2 separate regions of the Homo sapiens genome follow, and region 2 is linked to region 1. Evidence: promoter capture Hi-C in 16 types of primary human blood cells and fetal thymus (Javierre and others, 2016). All regions are on one chromosome and are shown on one strand. The core of a region is centred on a gene start or on the middle of the fragment in contact, and the rest is flanking DNA. Distances in the headings are between cores, read along the strand shown. Region 1 holds the start of NNT (nicotinamide nucleotide transhydrogenase). Region 2 overlaps OXCT1 (3-oxoacid CoA-transferase 1).

Region 1 (2,915 bases), core at 122-2,621:
AGGGCTAGGTGACCTTAAGCCTAAGTACCTATTGAGCACATTTTCCAAGGATTTTCGGAAAATTTCCTTTGAAAAGGAAATGTTTGTGTAGCCTTGTGGAAAACTGATTCTATCACCAAGGTAAGCAGCCTAAGCGCACCTGCTGGAAAGAAGGCAATCCTAAACTGTCTGTTAATAAAAAGTCAAGGTTTACAAATAAAAGGGGTGCAATGAAGAAAAGGGGCACACTTTAAATAAGAAGAGTAGGTAGGCACCTAAGCCCCACGCGCTTCTCCGAATAAGTCTGTCCTACAAGACTCCTGACAAACAGACCACCTAAGGACTGGCCGGCGCCACAGGGTGAATAAAGGACACCGGCAACCATAAACAAGTCACGCTTTTAAAAGCGAGACATACCAGCAAGGACACAATACCCTACTGAGCCAGCTTCGGCTGGCAGGCGCCGTGACCTCACCCAAAGCCACTGGTGTCACGGCTACTGCCACCGGTGCCGTCCCTTGCTCGGCAACTAACTGCCACCCGCTGGCATCTGCACGAGACCGCTATTTATAACCTCCCTAGGAAGCCGATTGGCCACGGCTGCAAATAGTCATTCCGGCTGTTGAGTTTGAACTAGCTCTGCCCAGGTCGCCCTCTCCGCTGTCTCTTCCTCCTCACCAGCCTAGGCCCCAGAAACTTGTACCCACCACCGCCAGACCGCCCCAACTCACACTCACAATTTGTGCTCGCAATCTCCTATGTCCCCAGCCGGACACCCTCTCCGAACTCCCTCAAGGGTCAAGCATACCTCAAGGGCATCCAGCTGCCACCTCTCTGGATGAACCGCCCATCGAAAGTCCTCTATGACCTCCCTCTCCACCACCCCCGATCTTGAGGGCCGAAATGACCCCGTACGACTCTCGCTGTCCCCCAAAGCTGCAAATATCTGCACCTGCACAGCTGCCGCCTCATTCCCTGCCCTCTTCGGGGACCCAGTTCCCAAATCCACCAGCCCACTCCCTTCGACATCGCCCCAGCAGGAGACGAGAAAGGGACACCAAGAGGCACGGTGCTTCTTCCCCACCTAAGCCTGCGGCCTGCGGACACCCCAATGCACCCTGCGCCCGGGACACCGCCGACCCCGCCCCGCTTTGCTCTTTGACAGGTCTCTCTCCCGGCGAGGGCCGTGGTCTTCAGGAAAGGCCCGAGCCCCTTTCCCAGCTGCGCCCTAGGCGCGCGCCCCGGCTGCCCGCACCCGCCAGTGCCGTCGCGCTCACCTGGGCCGGGAGGCTGACAGCCTTGGGCTGTGCCCTGAGGGCCGCGAGAGGACGTCGCGCTGGCAGACCCGGGCTTGGGCCCCGCGGCGCTGCGCCTCCAACCCGGAAGAACAGCCCCAACTCCGCGGCGGCGGGCGGCCACGTGACTGCAGCTCCGCTCCCACCTCGGCCCGCGCCCCTTCCCCGCCCCAGCTTTCTTCCCGCCAGGCCCCCTCCACCCGATCGCCGCGCGCTCTCCGAACCAAAAGGCGACCTCACGAAATGCCCCTTTGAGCTCAAAGGCTAGTTACCCCCAGGGGCCCTTCCACTCTCGGGGACAGGCGAAACCTCTTTGTCTCTGCCTCGGCCTGCGGCCCCCAGCCCAGCCTCCGCGCTTTCCCTCCGCCAGTCCTTGTCAATCAAACCTGGTGCCAAACGCGGCAGCTGAAGTTTTCAGGGACACATTTGCTTCTCCCCTTGAAGAACCAGTTACAAAGCGTGATGTCCTCTCTGGGGTCCCATCAGAACAAAGAAACAGGTAATATAACTCCACTCCGGGTACCTGCCTTTCCTCCAGCTCGCTAGGAAAAATCAGAACTTCTGTAACAGAGAGGACCCAAGGGAAAGGGGCAGGCGGAGAGGGGTTGGTGAAGGGCGGGAATGGGGGGCGTTGATTTTCCATTCTGGCAGGAGAGGTGGAGTTAAATTCCTCAGAAACGATGTCCAGGCTTGAAAAGTAACACACATCTGCGTGCTTGTCTTCCAACATCAGAGCCAGCCTAGAGGAAGCTGGCTAGTGTCACTGCTAGTACGAATATCCCCGAGGCTGGAAAGCATCTGGGTGGAGGTTGTGAGCTTTCCAGACCAGGCCTCGGCTGTTTTTCTAAAACTATTAACCGTAATGACCTAGTCGTTCTTTTCACACAGTTCTGTTACTTATTCTGCAGGTGTATTCTGACTAAAAGTGGGAGGAATAAAAAATAGAGTGTAAAATGGTTCACTTGCCCAAAACTTAATCATCATGAAGTGTCAGTAACGTCATTTATTTCTATTAATTGAAATTTTGATACAAGAAAAATAATTATGAATCTAAAAGGTATAAGCAGAACAGGTATTCCATAACTTTAAAAAGAAATGAGCCGCAGGGAAACCCTTAGTTTGAGAACTTGTCTTGTGATTAACCTACACAGAAGGTCATTCAACTAATGGATTCCCACTGCAGTCCAAACTCACAGACAGGAAATGACACAGCCCCATGTTTTAAAATAATAATGAGCCGTGGTAAGTGTGACCATAGGGACGGTTTCCAGATACTGAAGGTACAATGAAGTGAGATTAGTAATGATCCCACTTAGTAAGGATTTTAAACTAAGTTATTGATTTAAAACTTTTTGTAGGGGTCAGGAGTTGCTGCTTTGTCTTTTAGGGATTAATAATTCGTGGTTCCCAACTGGGGACAATTTAGTTCCGAGGGATATTTGGCAATGTCTAGAGACATTTTGGTTGTCACAATTGGAGAGGGGACCTATCTAATGGGTTGGGGCCAGGGATATTACTGAACACCTCACACTACACAGCCCCTCACGACGAAGCATTATCCAGCCCCAAATGTCAATAGTGCTGAGGCTGAAAAATCCTGGCTTAAATTAATGCTCAGTACATTATTTAATTTTGACTTGC
Region 2 (2,915 bases), core at 210-2,709, 1.8 Mb after region 1:
AATTTATCTTAGTTCCTATAGTAAGATCCTCATTCATCAGTTATTCCCTAAGTGCATTAATCTTTTTTCTAGCAGGCAACTTGGTTAATGTCTTTAAAGTAGCCTTTATTTAAGAAAGGTTTTGTTTCAAACCATAGTTGAAATAAATGTACCAAAATTTTCTATTTTCTATAGCAGCTTTTTGTAAAACGCACTTAGTCTGTTTTTCCACTAGGGGGTGCGGTAGGGATGAGAATGGAGTTCTACATTCACATGGCTCCATTTTGTGCAGTGATGGAGTGTGGCAATGGATGCTTGTTTTAATTCCCGGAAATAAACCGTCAAGAATAAAAGAACATGATGGCAAGACAGTTTTGCTTTATGTTCTTCCCTCCAAAATTGGTAGTATAATTAAAAGGCAATAAACATAAATAAAAATCAATAGCATTCCCTAGATCAGTAATGTCAGAAGAGTAGATAGGAGCAAATGTAACATTCACAGTAGCAAGAGAAACCACTAAGTACCTATAAATAAACCTAAGAAAAAAAATAAAGCTTTTATGGAGAAAATAATAAAACTATTGAAGGAGGTCGAAGAAAACCTCAGTAAATGGAGACATATACTATGCTCATGGGTGGGAAGATAGGGCTTGTTGGTTTTCTCCAAATTTACTGATTCTGTGAATCCCATTTAAAATCTCAACAGGTGATATAGGTTATTGAGGATAGCTGAATGATAGATTTTTGTAACTATTTTATGTAGGAAAACAATACATAGACCATTTTATGCAAACTGTTTTTTCAGGGGAGAGGGAAAGAAGGACTATTTTTCACATTCAATATACAACCTGTACATACAAATAGTAAAATGAAAATAGTCTATCCCTCAGGCCATAGAACTTTCAGTTCCTCAAATGCACAAATTTTCTTTTGTCACTGGACCTTTGCTTGTCTGTTTCCTTAGCTCCCCTTAGACCACTTTGACTAAGTCCTGCTTGCCTAACACTGCTTATCTTTGAAGTCTCTGGGATGCTTTTCCCTCTGAGAAATTTTCCCTCAGTAGGCTTGTATCCTTATTATCTACCTCTATCAGAGTGCCTCTATCACAATCAAGACCTATGCAAATACCTGATGATGCCTTCTCCCTCTTCTGCAGGTGAGGGAGTTCAATGGTCAGCACTTTATTTTGGAGGAAGCAATTACAGGGGATTTTGCTTTGGTGAAAGCCTGGAAGGCGGACCGAGCAGGAAACGTGATTTTCAGGTATTGTGATAGTTTTAAAAACACTCGTGCATATCAGCAACTCTAAAAATGGACATCAGAGTGAATTTGGAATTTAAAAATGTATTTTCGTAATGGCCCAAAATCATACATGCCCATGTGTATTGCACATATATAGGTGTGTGCAGGGCTGCTGGTATGTCCACTTGTGGGAGTCTGTTTAGACTGGTCGATATCTATGTTGCACTGCTTGTTAAATATTTGGATCTATATGCCCTTTTATATAGGCACATGCAGTTGTTTTTCTCCTTGTGTATTTTAGTTGCCAAGACCAGTTACATGCTTAGAAAATGTGACATCATACAATTTTATTTAATTGATATTGTAATTTACATGTATTGTCTTAAAATGTCAAAGCTAATTTGATACTCTGGAAAGATACTGCTAATAATCATTGGGGTCAGTCCTTCAGTCCTTTTGGTGTCTTCTAGGAAATGCTTACAAAGGTTCTATCTGAAAAATTGATTAACCTTTATAATACTGAATTTTCAATCCTCTCAGCCACAGACTTTATAGATTTTAAAATCTTTTGGTTATTCTAAGCATACTAAGTATTTATATCTTGGATTTATAGATTTATATAGTTGTTTTTTGAGGAATATGAAACCTTTGAGTGTACACTTAAGAGTTTTCCAAACTGATCTTGAAGACTTTACCTATCAGATTACAGAAATCATTGTTTTTGCTTATTTATCATTTGCTGCTTTCGATTAACAATTTTTAAATCTTTAGCAAATGCAGCTTTGGTGCAATTACAGTTAAGTTCTCAGTGATACTCTCATATCACTTTTTATTTCTGAAGGACTTATGTGATATTAATGCTCTTTGATTTCTTTAATTTAGCCAGTTTTTTAAAGTACAACTAATTTTGGCAATAACAGGAGTAATTTTACATCATCTTTACCTTATTTGACACGTTTGTGTAATATTTACACGTTTAGTTGCTTTTTAAAAAAGATTAACAAAATTGTATACTACCAAACAGAAAGGAATTATTGAAAATATTCCCATGTTTATTCTGCGCTGCAGTGCCTGGCTCTGGTATTTGAAGGCTGCACAAGGGCTATTCTGGGCACTGACTTTATGCTGGTGGTTAATGAGTTCGGGTGTGAAATGAAAGCTTGCATCACCAATGGTCAAGTGACCTTAGGATTAACTTCATATTTAGTGGGACAGCTGGAACAGAAGTCTGTCTAGGTTATTCAAGTGGGGGACTTGGGACTCCTTTGCCTCTGACCATTCTGCCCTTGGAGCTTTTGATGCCTGGATGTCTGGTGGGATCTAACCCAGCAACTTGTGAAAGTTCACGAGGGCTCCTTTCTCAAGGATGCTCCTATTCCTGTACTCATTCTTCAATCTGAGCAAAAGAAATATTGGTGGCTCAAAAGAGCTAGTAAAACATAGCTGTGACTTACTTCCTTTTACCAAAGAAATTCTGCCATCAACGTATATTCCCAGAGACAAAAAATATGTTTTAATTTTTACCATTAGGGGAACTGTATTGAGGAACATCAGAGTGCAAAACCATCGGCAAAATTGGCACCTGCTAGAAATTTTTACACCTCGGGGTCTGATGTGGGTGTTATACTTCCAAAAACTTCATCAGAAAATGATTCTCCAGAATGATCTTTATAGTTGACTCACAAATTATCAAT

Evidence for each region. The method cuts DNA at HindIII sites, captures the fragments that hold promoters and counts their contacts. A CHiCAGO score of 5 or more calls a contact.
Region 2: a contact is called between a fragment that was not itself captured here and the fragment with the promoter of NNT in region 1, in 1 of 17 cell types (non-activated CD4 T cells). The highest score is 6.3, in non-activated CD4 T cells.

Annotation. Positions count from the first base shown.
Region 1 is chr5:43,601,636-43,604,550 of GRCh38, reverse strand. It overlaps NNT (nicotinamide nucleotide transhydrogenase), which reads right to left and starts at 1,371. Exons shown (of 22, transcript NM_182977.3): 1 at 1,257-1,371. NNT-AS1 (NNT antisense RNA 1) reads left to right here and starts at 1,321. Exons shown (of 3, transcript NR_073113.1): 1 at 1,321-1,773. RefSeq lists silencers at 1,111-1,330, 1,451-1,540, 1,804-2,023. The HindIII fragment of the contact is 7,409 bases long and covers 1-2,915 here.
Region 2 is chr5:41,841,002-41,843,916 of GRCh38, reverse strand. OXCT1 (3-oxoacid CoA-transferase 1) reads left to right here. Exons shown (of 17, transcript NM_000436.4): 6 at 1,136-1,242. Among named protein-coding and RNA genes, the nearest start is that of OXCT1-AS1, 28 kb to the left of the region's middle. The HindIII fragment of the contact is 1,846 bases long and covers 537-2,382 here.